2 separate regions of the Homo sapiens genome follow, and region 1 is linked to region 2. Evidence: promoter capture Hi-C in human tissues and cell types (Jung and others, 2019). All regions are on one chromosome and are shown on one strand. Each heading gives the region's core, a stretch centred on a gene start or on the middle of the fragment in contact. The rest is flanking DNA. Distances are from core to core; before and after follow the strand shown. Region 1 has its middle 190 kb from the start of BPNT2. Region 2 holds the start of PENK (proenkephalin).

Region 1 (6,784 bases), core at 3,455-5,954, 350 kb after region 2:
GTCATATTCAATTATTTTTTCAAAAACAATTCTTTTTCCATAGCCCTTCTTTCTCTCTGTCAGGTGCCCTTTCTTATTTTCTCTCCATTAAATTCTTTCTCACTCAGGTAAATCTGGGTTTGAATGCCAGTTTGGCGATTTGCAAGTCCTTAATCTGTTTGAAAACTAATTCTTCATTTTTAGCAACAATATAATTAGCAATTATAATAGTATCTAACTCACCTGTTATTACATAATGAATGTGAAGTGTTAATCACATGGCCTAGCATACAATTTTTACTCAATAAATGTTATTAGTACTTTTATTATTATCATCAACACTGTATTAATAGAATACCACCTACTTGTAGCCAAATTAGAATCACATTTCTAAAACTTTAAGCTTGTAATTATCTCATCTTTCATATATTCACAGGTAAGAAAAACTTTATTCTGGAACTTGTGAGTTGAGGGTAAGAACGTGTATTTACAAAGTAATGAAAGTATGTGAGAAGAAGAAGATGAAGGCTTTTCTGATCATTACATCTTCTAAAAAGGGTATACAATATGATTTTAAGATCCAGAAATAATCTAGACAAATATCATTTTTCCCTGTTTTCCTCTCCTTACTTTATTCTGAAATTATATCATTAGAATGTCATCCCTGAGTAAATATCTTGAGAGTGATAGCACTTTGAGCTCTTGGTAGCCTGAAAAGGGATCATTTCTGTTTGAATTCTATAGAGGCTTCTAGAAACATCTCTGTACTCTACCCATGTTCACCTGCCCCAGGGAAATTGATGATGCTTCTTAGAGCACATTGCTAGTTTTGTGACATGAATAACTGAGTCATTCTCAGATCAGAAATGATACTCACAATAACAAAATTTGTTCTTTAAAAGAACAAATATGTAAACCAAATAACCCTCAAATTAAAAGCACAGACCCTGAGAAGTGGCAGACTTCTTGGAGGTGATTTATTTCAACCTTCTAACAATTCAGTCTTTTCTGTGATATTGACCTGAGAGGCATCCAACATTGCCCTGCTGTTACTTGGCTATAGAGGGAGGGCTTTCGAATAGAAACACCTGTGGACACAGTCCTGCCTCTGCCACCAACATCTGTGTTCTTAAGCATGCCATGTAATTTTGAGGTTCTGTTTCCTCACTAGCGAAAGAAAAATTCTTTGAATTTGGTGTTCCTATGACTTTATCTATTCCAATGACGGGGAACTCACTACCATCTTCATTGGAGAGCTGGATTGCTGGTGACAACATCTGTTACATTGAATCAAAAAATGTTTCCTCAATATTCCCTATGTCTTGGTTTGCTTCTTGGAGTTACTCAAAATGAAATGAGGTACTCTTCAAATATTTGGATATTGCTGATGTGCTCCCCTGTTCTTTGCTTCCTCAAGCTAAGCAAACACAAGGAAATAAGTCTCGTTCTGTGTGACATGAGTCGTGGATCCCTGCCATCTGCCTTTGGGCACATCTTTGTTTGCCAATATCCTTCATAAAATGTACTTCCGAGAACCAAACACAATACTATATATAATAGATAGAATTAAGATGAACAATCTAAATTACAACACATTTTTATAGCTCAGCTCTAAGCACATCTGTTGCTTAGTCAGTCCTCCATTGGTTGAAACAGGGACTACACAAATGCTCAGCCCCAGGTTACCAATAAGCTGTTGCTCATTTGTTCAACAAGTGCCTTAACTTTACAGGCTAACTCCGTTTCCCAGGAGTCTGCATTCTGAGTCAAAGCCATAATCTTCATCTGAGAACAGCACTATTTCTTAAGTAATTCTTAGATTGTTTTCTAGCTGAGCTCTGACCACTTTCAGAAAATTTTTTTTTCACTTTCAGAAATTTTTAACAAACATGCTGGTCCTTGGAAATGGATTTCTCATACATGTTCAATATAAGTTTACCAATGACTTATAATTATTTAAATATCATAAACCAAGAGATGTCAGTGAAGCAGTCATTAATATAATAGTGTAACTGACTAATTTGAAAACATGCATATATTATGAGTGCTTTGGGTACAAGAATGAGAAAAATTACAGATAGCCTGTAAAAGGGAGATTAACAGCTAGTATGGAGACTCAAGCCTCAAAGAAAACTTTACTCAGTTTCCCTAGGTGGCACAGTCTTACATATCCTTCATGTCCCTGATGATATTGATCCCAATATGTGGGTAGACTAGATAGAAATGATACATAGAATTGATTTTATTGATATGCCAAGGTAAATGGTCAATCAATATTTGCTGTATTGAATTGTAAGAAGTAGACTAACCACTTACAACCATGTTTTTAAATCATCTTGAGGATGAGTTCATATAAACCATGGAGATATGAAAGAGGTCCTGGTTGAAAACATGGGTCTTGAGTATGAAGGTCTTGGCTTTATAAATTCATCTGACTACTGTGCATATTACATTACTTCTCTATACCTTACATTCTTTTTCTGTAAAACAAGGCTAATAAAAGCCAATCTTCTTATTTGGGTTATGAGAATTAAATGAGTGAAATATCTTAGCAAAACACTTAGCCAAATGTTTGGAAATAGAGAATGTTCAATGAATTGTAGGAAATATTGTGTGTGTGATAAGCTTGCAAGTAGCCAGTCTGTCTGCCCATCCACATCTTGCCTAGAACGCTAAAGAAATTCTTATTGAATTCATTAAAGGACTAGTAGATTTTCACTGAAAATGTCCCATGTTTACTTTAAGAAGATAATAAAAACAATAATAATATGAGTAGTGAAATTGTTACATAATGCTTACTATGTGCTGGACACCATTCTAAGTATTTCACATTTGTTAATTTGGTTAACATAGAAGAAACAATTCATTAGTTACACCACTTGACTGCCTCAATAAATGCAAAATCCAGTAAGAAAGAAAATAGTATTTGATTTGGTAATTTTTTAGTCTTCTTATTAATACATCTTAATTTTATCTATTTATTAATAATCTGACACTGATTTATAATATTAGAAAGCTGATTGCCCATCATGTGATCTTCTATGTAGATACAAAATGTTTAACATTCTAAGATAAAGTTGAATTCAATAGAGGTAGAATATTTCTTGAGGAAATTAAAGTACCTACTAATGTGTTATCCAGAAATGGGGAAGGGAAATGGAATTTCCTCAGGGTCCCTCAAAGCAGTAGAATACAAGATTGAGAATGTGCAAAATGGACTGATCCTTCATTGCATTTCCTGGGGGTGCGAAAGACTCTCAGATGCAGCTGTCATACTGAGCCTTCATGAACAATCTGTTCTAAAATGACAAAAATATGACTTGTGGGCAGGGCAATCATTTAATTTCCAGCAGAGGAAAATAAGGACAGTGTACTTGGTGATTATTCCCCATCCTAATGTAATTTACTGTGTCTCGGTTTTCAGTTATCATCCTATTCAAGGTTACAAAATGTTAGTAGACTGAACTCAATGCCTTATTCCTGCATTGAAAAAACATTGTTAGAACTTTTAAGTGTTTAAAATTATTGACTGTCTCAATTAATTCAAGAAGCATTCTGTCTTGACAAAACATTCCATTACCAAGTTCTTGTACCTAATCCTCTGCCTACAGGCTGGCAAATAAATTGGGCAAGACAGATATAAGTGTCCAATATATCTGGCCTAGTGTTCATATTCATGAGTTCTAGGCCTGAAAATTTGACAAATTCCTGAGGTAACACACTCTAGATCCTAATCACATTTATAGTCAAGATGCTTTCCTCCAGGTCTTGACAAATTAGTTTCAGAATTAGTTCCCCTTATTCAGCTTCCTTAACTCTAATACTCCTAACTCTACACTGCAGCTGGTCTAGCTTATTCTGCTGAGTATGGATAACACCCTCCCAGCCACTCTGTCTCCTGCATGCCTTCTCCATTGCAGCCCACCCTCTGAGATCAAAGTGGCAGGGGGTGGGGGAGTATGCTAGAAGTCTGGTGCTCACTATCTCAGAGCCACTTCTGATCTCAGCTCTATCATATACACTAGGCTTTAGGATTTGCTTTCTACACACTGAATAGAAGCCAGTCACTAGACAGATGAGTTTAAAATAAATTGTGAAGTGATGTAATTATGATATGCATAGTTAGATTGTTATTAACAAATCTGCTTCCTTCAGGATGAACTTATTAGCATTCATTACTGATAGCACTTTACAGTTTTTAAACTATGGCCAGTGAGCTCAAAATGCTTTTTTGTGTTTTGAAATGCTAAATCCTTATAGCATAGTATCTAAGTAGACAAAACTGTAAGTTATTCTAAGGCCGCTACACATTGGTTATGATCTATTCAGTATTTTTAGAAGAGATGTTTATTGAGAGCCTTTCATCTTGGCTTGTGCTAGACAAAGGGAAAGTGATGGCTAAGACAGTCCCTGTTCTTGAGGAGCTTCTCATGTTCTAGAAGAGGGGAATATACAATGGAGTCATTAGGGACCAGGAGGCATGTGCAATGTATAGACACAGTGAATTCTGTGAGGGCCTTGAGGGAGAAACCTACCCCAGCCCAGGGTATGAGTCAGAGTCAGCCAGGCAGAGAGGGGAAGGCCATTCCCGACAGGGAGATGCTTGAGCAAAGGTGAGGAGCATAAAATGGCACAGTGCTGGGGGGAAATTCTCCAAGGAGTTTCGTGGTGCCTTCTGCATATTGCATTGTGGTGGCTGTGGAAAATAAAGTAATTTGAGAAATAATAGAGGTAAAAGAGTTCACCGCTGATTTATTTAGGACGAGTCAATGAGAAAGGAAGAATTGAGGCTGACTCACAGGTTTCCACAAGGTGCCTGGTGGTGGTGTAGACTAAACCATAGAATACAGAAGGAAAGGGGTTGGGAGGGAAATGCTTTCAGTCATGTTCACAATAAGTGTGGTATAGGTAAGAGGCAAGTGGATGTATAGTCCATGTTTAGGGGGATAAATTTATATAGAATTAGGAGTTGTCTACAGAGAGATAGTAACAGAAACCATGAGAGGGCATGAGTGCATAAGTCAGGTGAGTGGATGAGATCGTAAGGGATCAGCAACATTTAGGGATTAAATGGATGCTCATGTGTCTGCTTCAAAAACTCATATTTTGACTTCCTTCAATATAATGACCTGTGGTATTATAAGCATTTTGTGCGCCCTCCACAAAGATGTTCACATTCGAATCTCCAGAACTTGCAAATATAACTGTTTACAGGGCAAAAGGGAATTAAGATTGCAGAGGGAATTAAGGTTACTAATAATCTGGCCTTAAAATTGGGAGGTTATCCTGGATTATGCAAATGTGCTCTGTGTAATCACAAGGGTTCCTGAAAGTAGATGAAGAGTGCAAAAGAGTCAGTGTCAGAGTAATGTTAGGTGAGAAAGACTCGGCCAGAGTTTGCTGGCTTTGAAGATGGAGGAAGGGAGCCAGTAGCCAAAGACTGAGGGTGAAGGTGAACTCTAGAAGCCAGAGAAGGCAAAGAAAGGGCTTCTCCTCTAGACCTTCCAGAAGGCATGCAGTCCTACTGATGCCTTGATTTTAGCCCATGAGACCAATGAGACCCATTTCAGACTTCTGATTTCTCAAACTATAAAGTAACACATTTTTGTTGTCTTGAGCCAGTAAGTTTGTGGCAATATGTTACAACAGCAATAGATGACTAATACTGAACCGTATCTTGGTTTCTCTTTGTATGCTCGGCATTCAGTAACTGTCTGTGATACACAAGCTCAAAAAATTAACTTATAAATGAACAAATATGGAACTTAAGATCCTAAAGATATGTATCATTTGTCCAGAAAATTGAGATTGTGCCAGCATAGAAACACATGATCATTTACTTTTTCCATTCTATATTTAGATTTTCTTTCTTTTGTTTTTGTTTTGAAATATTCAGTCTTGAAAAATCAAACAAAGGTGATGCTATACCAAGATCCTAAAGAATACAAGCACATTTTATTTATAAATTGTTGACATTACAGAATCCATTAGCATTTATTTCTAAATACCAATTATTGGAAGAGTAGTTGTTGTTTCATGTCATTATTTATATTTTGTGACAATCCTGCTTCCCAGTTAGATTTTAAGCCTTTAGAGGGCAGGGAGCTTGCCTTATGCCACATTGCGTCCCTGATTCCTGCAAAAATGACCAGTGAAATTTTCTTAAAGAGAACCTGCTATGGGTCAGAAAAGAGTTTATCTTGCCTTTGAGTTGAAGACAGTGGTATGTAATAGCTACCTCACATTGACCCATGAGAGACCATCAGCGTATATTTAGGAATTTTGTGAACCAGTTGATGTTAGGAATTTCTAGGGCTTTTGTGAGCCAGTAGCTTGAAATTGGCCATGATGGGATTATTTACACCACAAAAATTGGCAAATAATACAAGTCAGCTTCTCATTTCAAGAGGCACATCTACAAGGATTTCATGAAGTTCCACAAGTTTTTGCCTTGGAGCATTCCTGGGTTACTTACTTAATGGTTGCATTGTATTTGCTGTCTGAAGACTGGGCTGTTGGAGTTGTCTTCAAAACTAGTCATTTATATTTTCAGTTTTTAGCCACTTAACAGGAAACTGGACTGGTTTAAAGAATCCATGAGAGTATGATGGATTAAAGTGGAGTCTGATCGACTTCATGAAAACACATTTGGAACAAATATCTCTATAATATTGAGGCAAGTTAAAATCCTTTATTTGAATAAGGATTTATTTCAAGTATTTCCACTCACTGTCCTATTTTAAAAGAATTCATCCTTAATGAAATAACTCTTCCAAACTAACTCTGGTATTGTCCTTTAAAACAA
Region 2 (7,537 bases), core at 372-2,871:
GTCCTCAGCTTTTTCTTTCCCCAACCCCCTGTAGTGCAGTGTATCTTTGGACTGTTGTCACCCATTGGACACTGGCCACTTCTCTTGTTCCTTTCTCATAGCCAAATTAAACTGTTGTTTTAGTTACTATTACAAAGGGCAGTTGAAACAGAAGTTGAATTCCAGCATCACTGGCTAGTGAGACAGTTTGAACTCTTTCCTGTCTACGGTTATTTCGCCTTCCTCTCCCCGTACCCCTTTTCCATCCCTTTGCTCTCTCCTATTTACAGGTGAGGGTAGGGAATGAGGGACCTGAGGTTAAGAGAGCTGGGGAACATAAATCTAAAGAAAGGCACCGAAATGTCACTAACAAAAAATTACATTATTTGTGGGAAAGATGGGAAGATGACTGCGTGTGGAGGGGCCCTTAGCTGGGATATGTTAGGAGTTGTGGTGACAGCCATCTTCCTTCTGACAGCCCAGGAGAGAACCCAGTGCTATCCGAGGTGCTGAACAGAGGACTTCTCGGGGTTCCCGAATTCCCAGGGTTAAAACAAACTTGGTTTGTGCGGCGACACCGCTACCCTTACCGGTCCCCAGATAGTCGCGGATCCCCGAAGCTAAGAGCCAGGGCAGGACTTCAGTCAGTGTTCCAGGAACAGCTGAGACACCCAGGTCACCACGGGCTCGCGCCGCTGCGGCTCCGACCCGGTGCGAACCGCCATACGCGCCGCGCGGTGGGCCGGAGGCAGTCCGCGTACTGTTGCGGAAACTCTGTCTCACAAGGTGCGCAACACTCGCCGCGCGCAACACTCACCAGGAAGTTGATGTCGGCCGGGCGCACTAGGCGGTAGCTGCACGTCGCGCAATCCTGGCTGCATTCGGCCCGCACGGTCGCCAGGAGCCCGGGGCCGAGCAACAGCAGCCAAGTGCAAAGTGTCAGGAACCGCGCCATGGACTGCGAGGAGAGAGGGACGCGTGCTTCGAGCCTGCCTGGGCGCAGAACGGGGTCCCTCGGCAGGACCCTCGCCGCGACAGCCTCAGCAGGGGATCGTCGAGCAAAAGCCCGCAGGAATGCTCCTTTCTGGGGCCCCGCCCTCCCGGCCGACAGCTTTTAGGTAGACGTGGAGGCGACTCAGATCGCCTCGCGGTTCCCGGGATGGCGCGGTCGCCCCCAACGCGAGGCTGCCTGGGGCACCCGGCTCTTTTCCTGGGCGTCCGCGGCCCAGGGCAAGATTCCGGAGAGAACGCCGCAGACCAGGGGCGAGAGAGCGGGAGCCGGGGGAGGCAGGACATTGACTGGGGTCACAAAGAAGAACCAGGGAACGCTGTTGGGGAACCCATGCAATGAAATGTGAAGGGAAAGAGGGCGGGCAGACGTCCCCAAACCCGCTCAGCAAAGACAAGCTTCGGGCAAATTCACTCACGTTGACGCTGTTCGGATGGAGCAGGCCAATTGGAAAAGCCGGGTTCAGACACGACTCTAGAGGGAAGAGAAGAAGGCAAGTGTGAGGAGGGCGGGCGTCGGGGAGAAGCGGGCCCGGGTGTGCTGGCGGACGTAGGGCCTCACCGTCGCGGTCCTCAGCGTCTCTGCGGGGTCACGGGCCAGGCTGCGGGGCTCTGAGCGCCTGCCTCGCCGTCCCGGGGCTTAACGGCTGCTGGAGCCACTTTATAATTAGCCCCAAACCGAAGGAGGCGCGCGCGCCCCAATCGCCGGCGGGCTGCAGCTGACGCAGGCCCTACGCCAGCCCCGCGCCGACGCCTTCGCGGGAGGGGTCGGTCCCCCAGCACCCGCGCGCCGCTCCCCCCGCCGAGCTCGGGTGGGGGCCACAGGGGGCGCTCGGTGGCTCCCCACACGGCCAGGTGACAAACCCAAGGCAGTTAGGAAGTTTGGGGAGAGTGAGATAGGATCAAGTTTCTCCGCATAAAGTCACTGAAATTGCACCGTGGGATGCGGGCTCCAGGGAGGGAAGCGAGGTGGGGGCGTTTGGAAGGATAGATGGACTGGCTTAGACTTCTGGAATGTGCTGGAGACCCAGCGGGCCGGTGAACCTGCCCCTTTCCCGCCTCCTCCCTGGGCCCCCTCGCGGGTCCCCGTGGGCACCAAGCACAGCCGTCCGGAATGTCGTCATTTATTGACCAACCTGTCCCCCACACTTGACTCCGAGTTCCTTACTGCAGCATCTAACAGCGTCAAGGTGCGCAGTTTAGGCGCTCAATTAATGGTTACAGGAACTGAACGATTGAAAGTTTCTGGGAATCTTAAAATCTCAGGACAGAATTTTCACCTTTCCAGTTAGAGACCCTTGGCCAAGCGTAGAAGCAGGTAAACCCTCAGGTTCCGGGACTGCGCGCTTTTCAGCCACTGTGGGAGAGGATCCGTGTTTAACCAGCTCCCCGGGGCTCCCAAGTCGAAGACCTACTGCCTTGAGAGCGCTGTCCAGGGTGTCCGGGGGTGTTGGATCAGTGAGAGGGGGGTGCCGGGGCGGGTGTAATGTCAGCGCGCCAGGAGTGTGGTGGGGAGGGAGGGATGAGGGACACCCTACCCGGGACGCCGGGGCTTGGAACCTCTTCTCCACCGGGAGGGGGCCGAGGGCACACTGTGGAGGCTGGTACTGTCCATTAAGACACGCTTTCCCGCTTCCTGGCTCTGCAAAAGATTGCTAAGCGGCAAGCTGCTTACATTGCCTGAGGCCTCAGTTTCCCTATTTGAAAAATAGGAACAGAGGTAATATGCCATTCATAAGGTTCTGGAGAGAATCAAATGAAATAGTGGACGAAATCTCTTAGCCTTGTGCCTGGCACTATAGCAAGCCCTCAAAACATCTTCTAACCATCCGTCATCCGTCCGTCCACCTTTCCATCTGTGACCATTGTCTGCTTACCTTATAGCTACCATCGATGTATCCAATCCACCTATGCATCTATGTCTCCTAGACCTAGGGGGAAACCATAAACAGTTCCTGGGAAAAGGTCCCAGAGGTTTCCAGGCCCTCTGCGCCCTCTGCAAAGGGCTGATTTCTACAGTCGCTAGGACCTGCAGCGGCGCTGCTCCCGCGGGGCTCCGGCCGCGCTGCATGTCCCATTATAGTCGCTAGAGGGCAGCGCTCTCCTGCGTAGGCTGGGCTTGCGGGGACTGGGGTCTCAGTTCTCCGCAGGCCTCAATGTGCGGGCTTGACACGCAGCCCTCGGATTAGCCCCGAAGCTGCACCCGAGCACCGCCTGCCTCCCGGCCGGGGCATCACGGTAGCAAGGTCGGGAAAGCAGAGCCCTGGAGTGGGGCTGGAGAACCCCGGACATAGCCCTAGGGAGCCAGCATTACCCTCTGAGCAGGAAAACACAATGTTTCCCGCTTTAGGTTCTTTTCATCATGGGGCCCCTTACTAGCTCCTTACTCTCTCCCCAAGGCAAAGGAGAGCTTTTGTCTTTACTTCAGATTTTTCCTTGTTGCCTGGGCTTTGGAAAGGAAGCTGACTCCACTGCAGTACTCAGTGCGAAAGTATTGCATGAACAAATTCTACCTAAAATTAAAGGAAACTTGCTATAGCTGAGCACTTGCGAACCTGGGATCACCTAAGAACTTTAAACGCATAATCAGGAGCGGGAGGCTGAGGTAGGTGTGTGTGTGTGTGTGTGTGTGTTTGTGTGTGTGTGTGTGTGTTTGGAATGACCACATCACGCGATGCTTTTTAAGGGTGCACAGCGCGCAGTAGTGGAAACAGTGCATTTCTGCACCCTGGCGACACAAAGGCTCGTTAGGATCTTGGAAAAGTAGAAGCTTAAGTTTGGGAGAGGTTTTAGGGATAATTTATTCCACCGCCCGTTCTACAGATGGTAAAAACCAAGGCTCAGAACGTCTGAGTGACCAGCCAGGGCAGTGGCAGACCAGGTTTTCCAGCCTCTGAGTTCCTTCCCGAAACCTACCTCAGGCCTAGTTTGTTTCTGTTGGAACTAGTCATGTTTGCTCTGAGTTAGGGTCTCTTGGCGCATTTGCATTTTCCCCTGAGACTCCTGAAATGTCAGGGGAGAGAGAAACAGAAAGGGAAAGAGAGGGCGCCTCCTAGGGGCAGTGCAAGAGTGTGCAGTCCCCCACGAGACCTTCCTAGATGCTTGGGGCACAGTGGTTGCTTGGTAAATGTGTGTCGACCGGCTGACTGACTGAATGAATGAAGTGATAGGAGGTCGACCTTGTTTGCCTACCCCAAATCAGTGACATCTCTTCCCATCATCCTCCCCCATCGACCTGAGAAACTAAAAGTCATTCTGGTGGCAATGAGTTGTAAGAAATTCATTTTTTCATCATCTTTTAAATATTTATCAAGAGTGAACAGACTTTGCAGTTATGATCTGGGAGAAAGCTGCTCTAGAAATCAGACTAAAAAAGGGAAGGGGCTCTGTCTTAAAGCATTCAATCCAGACATTTTTTATTTTCAGGTTAGGATCAATAACTCATCTTCTGATCCTAGGGTCCCAAGCATTTGCCCAAAGGGATTCATCCTAGAGACCAAGAAATCTGACTTTTTAACCCTGATGATGAATGGCATTTTACTCAGTTCTTAGGTGTTCTCAGAGTCTAAAAAGGTGGGATTTTACAATGTTCTTTTAGTGTCCTCTTCCATTATTTTCAGATGGAAGATGGCTAAATTGAATGACGTCTTTCTGGTACTCACTCCTCTGCTCCCCTCCCCTTCCTGTCACCCAAGCACACGTGTTTTATTACAGAAAGCCATTTCTGTCTGCCCCCCTCTCTCTAAAGTAGCAGTAGTGGAAACAAGCCCCTTCAGCACTCAGGCAATTGTGTGATGGTTCAGCATAAAAGCAACATGTTCTAACATTTCAGATGTTTGGAGTCATGCCAGAGTCAGGGGAGACATCCCCGTTTTCAGTTACAATCTAAAGTGCACAGTTTGCAAAATGTGATTCTGTGAGTTGGGCATATAACTGTGAAGTAGCACTGTTAAGGGATTCTTTTTCAGACTGGCTCAGAACACCATAACAGAGCAGCTGGAAGTGGGGTTGGCTTGAACGAGATGTTTTATGGTGTCACAAACCCCATTTTAAGGAAAGTCAGTGTTGGAACATTCTGGAAAATGTACCAGGAAATAGAATAAAACTCTAGGAAGAAAAGGTAATCTGGTACAAAGTTGCCAGATTAAATAATAGAAAGAGTTTAAATAATATAAATTAAATAATAGAATGAGTTTAAATAATAGAAAACATGTCAATGTGTCAGAGGAGGTGGGGAGAAAGGGAAGGTAAATTAAACCAAGAATATCAAACATATTGTTTATGTACTGTAAACTTAGGGAGGATTGAAACACACTTCCTAACTTTGGCCTTTTGCTCTCCAGGAGGGAAAAGATCAATCTTACTATTAAGTATAGGTAATTAGACAATGAATAAAGCAAGTCCTATTATGAAAAATTAGATTAAAATAAGATATAGCTGTGAGTCCAACCAATAGAGTATGTCTTGAGCAGCTCGACTTTTAATAATGACTTTTGAAATTGCCTTGAGAAATTTAATAGCCACGTGAGAGAACCAGTCAATGTTAAAAAATTGTGTTGCCTCAGTGAAACCCCGTCTCTAATAAAAATACAAAAAAAATGAGCTGGGTGTGGTGGCGGGTGCCTGTAGTCCTAGCTACTCAGGAGGCTGAGGCAGGAGAATGGCAGGAAGCTGGGAGGTGGAGCTTGCAGTGAGTCGAGATTGCGTCACTGCACTCCAGCTTGGGCGACAGAGCAAGACTCCATCACAAAAAAAATTGTGTCACCTCATTGGATTCAAACCTTATTCAACAACTTGACTTTGATTTGGTGTTTTGGTTGTTTCTGAAATCAAATATTAGATCCCACTTATGGGACCTGTATAGAAGGCATTCAAAAATATTCATCCACCACAGACAATTTCCACAGTTGAAGGAATGCTAGAAGAGAAGTTCTAAATAGATTTTGATCAATAGTAAGTTATTGGAATGAATGCAATGGCTGCAGGATACCAAGTTCTTAAGGGAATCCCTTTGCGTATGATCCACAGCACAGATGTTTGCACATAGTAGAGACTCAGTGAAGTTGCTTTTAAAACATGTGTTTTTGCTTATAGTTACATCTTCCATAGCTCCCAAGTGATGGTGAATGGTGGGATAGACCCAAGAGGTCAAACTGTTTTAATAAAATTATATAGGGAAAGCACTCAAATCTTTCAAAGCTATCAAATAAAAACTGAGCAAACTGAAAAACCACGACTCTTCTTAGATCTATCATAGAGGTTGGGTCACAGGGGAAACCACTGTCCCCCCAAATTGGAGAGACCAACAGGCAAACACAGGGGGTCCTGGCTTGCTGGTGCAGAAACCTCCCAGAGAATCAGTTGGGAGGTAGAAAAACCTGAACTACAGCTGACAAATTCCGGGAAACTGTGTGAACAAATCTGAGATAAAAATTCCAGGAGAACCCAGTCCACGGAGGCCTCCACACTTTCATGAGTTTTACTTACAGGTGTTCAACCAGGTTCTCACAATGAATAATGGAAAAAATTTCCCTTGTGCTTCAAGCAGTGGGAGGGAAAAAAGAGCCATTTTGAAATACACCGGAACATTGTGTTCCTAACAAGGTTTGCCCACAGGAGAACCTAGTTAACCAGAGTCTAATCTCCTGAAGTTTTATCAGAAAATAGCTGACCTGAGGGACTGGAAATACCCAACTCCAGCCCCCTCCAGCCATTGTGTTCTACTGAAGGGGAGGCTGGGGACTAAGAACATATGTAAAGTTCACAGCCCAGAGGTACAGGCTCACTAAAGACTGAGACCTACTCAGAGGACTGCAGAACACTCCCTTCCTGCTTTATCAACACATTACTAAAGGCATATTTATAACATTTCCGTTTACCCAGTACATCAAGTCTGGCTGTCAAGAAAAAATTACAAGACATACTAAAAACCAAAAAAAAAAAAAAAAAATCCCCACAGTTTGAAGAGACAGAGCAAGCATCAGAACCAGGCTCAGATATGTCAGAGATGTTAGAATTACCAGATGGGGAACTTAAAACAGCTATGATTAAAACACTAAAGGATGAGGTAGACAGCATGCAAGAACAGATGGGCAATGTAAGCAAAGAAACAGAAATTCTAAGAAAGATCCTAGAAGAAATGCTAGAAATCAAAAACACTGTCACAGAAATGAAAAATGCCTTTGATGGGTTTATTGTTAGACTGGATATGGCTGAGGAAAGAATCTCTGGACTTGGGGATATGTCAATAGAAACTGCCAAAACTGAAAGGCAAAGATAAAAAAGACTGAAAAAACAAAAAACAAAAAACAGAATATCCAAGAACTGCAGGACCATTATAAAAGCAGTAACACAAATGTAATGAGAATTCCAAAAGGAGAAGAGAGAAACAGAAGAAATGTTTGAAACAATAGTAACTGAGAATTGCCCCAAATTTTGTCAGACGCTAACCCCTATATATCAGGATATGTTGTCAGGAAGCCCAGACAACACTGAGCAGGATAAATGCCAAAAACCCTATACCTGTGCATACTATTTTCAAACTACAGAA

The links. Contacts are between HindIII fragments. The study calls those that stand out against the background at their distance.
Region 1: a contact is called between a fragment that was not itself captured here and the fragment with the promoter of PENK in region 2, in 1 of the 25 tissues and cell types used here (H1 embryonic stem cells).

Annotation. Positions count from the first base shown.
Region 1 is chr8:56,795,721-56,802,504 of GRCh38, forward strand. No RefSeq gene overlaps it. Among named protein-coding and RNA genes, the nearest start is that of BPNT2, 190 kb to the right of the region's middle. The HindIII fragment of the contact is 6,423 bases long and covers 1,494-6,784 here.
Region 2 is chr8:56,445,020-56,452,556 of GRCh38, forward strand. It overlaps PENK (proenkephalin), which reads right to left and starts at 1,622. Exons shown (of 4, transcript NM_001135690.3): 1 at 1,550-1,622; 2 at 1,407-1,462; 3 at 797-937. The coding sequence starts at 934. It overlaps PENK-AS1 (PENK antisense RNA 1), which reads left to right and starts at 788. Exons shown (of 4, transcript NR_125813.1): 1 at 788-1,481. RefSeq lists an enhancer at 393-1,284. The HindIII fragment of the contact is 6,864 bases long and covers 1-6,679 here.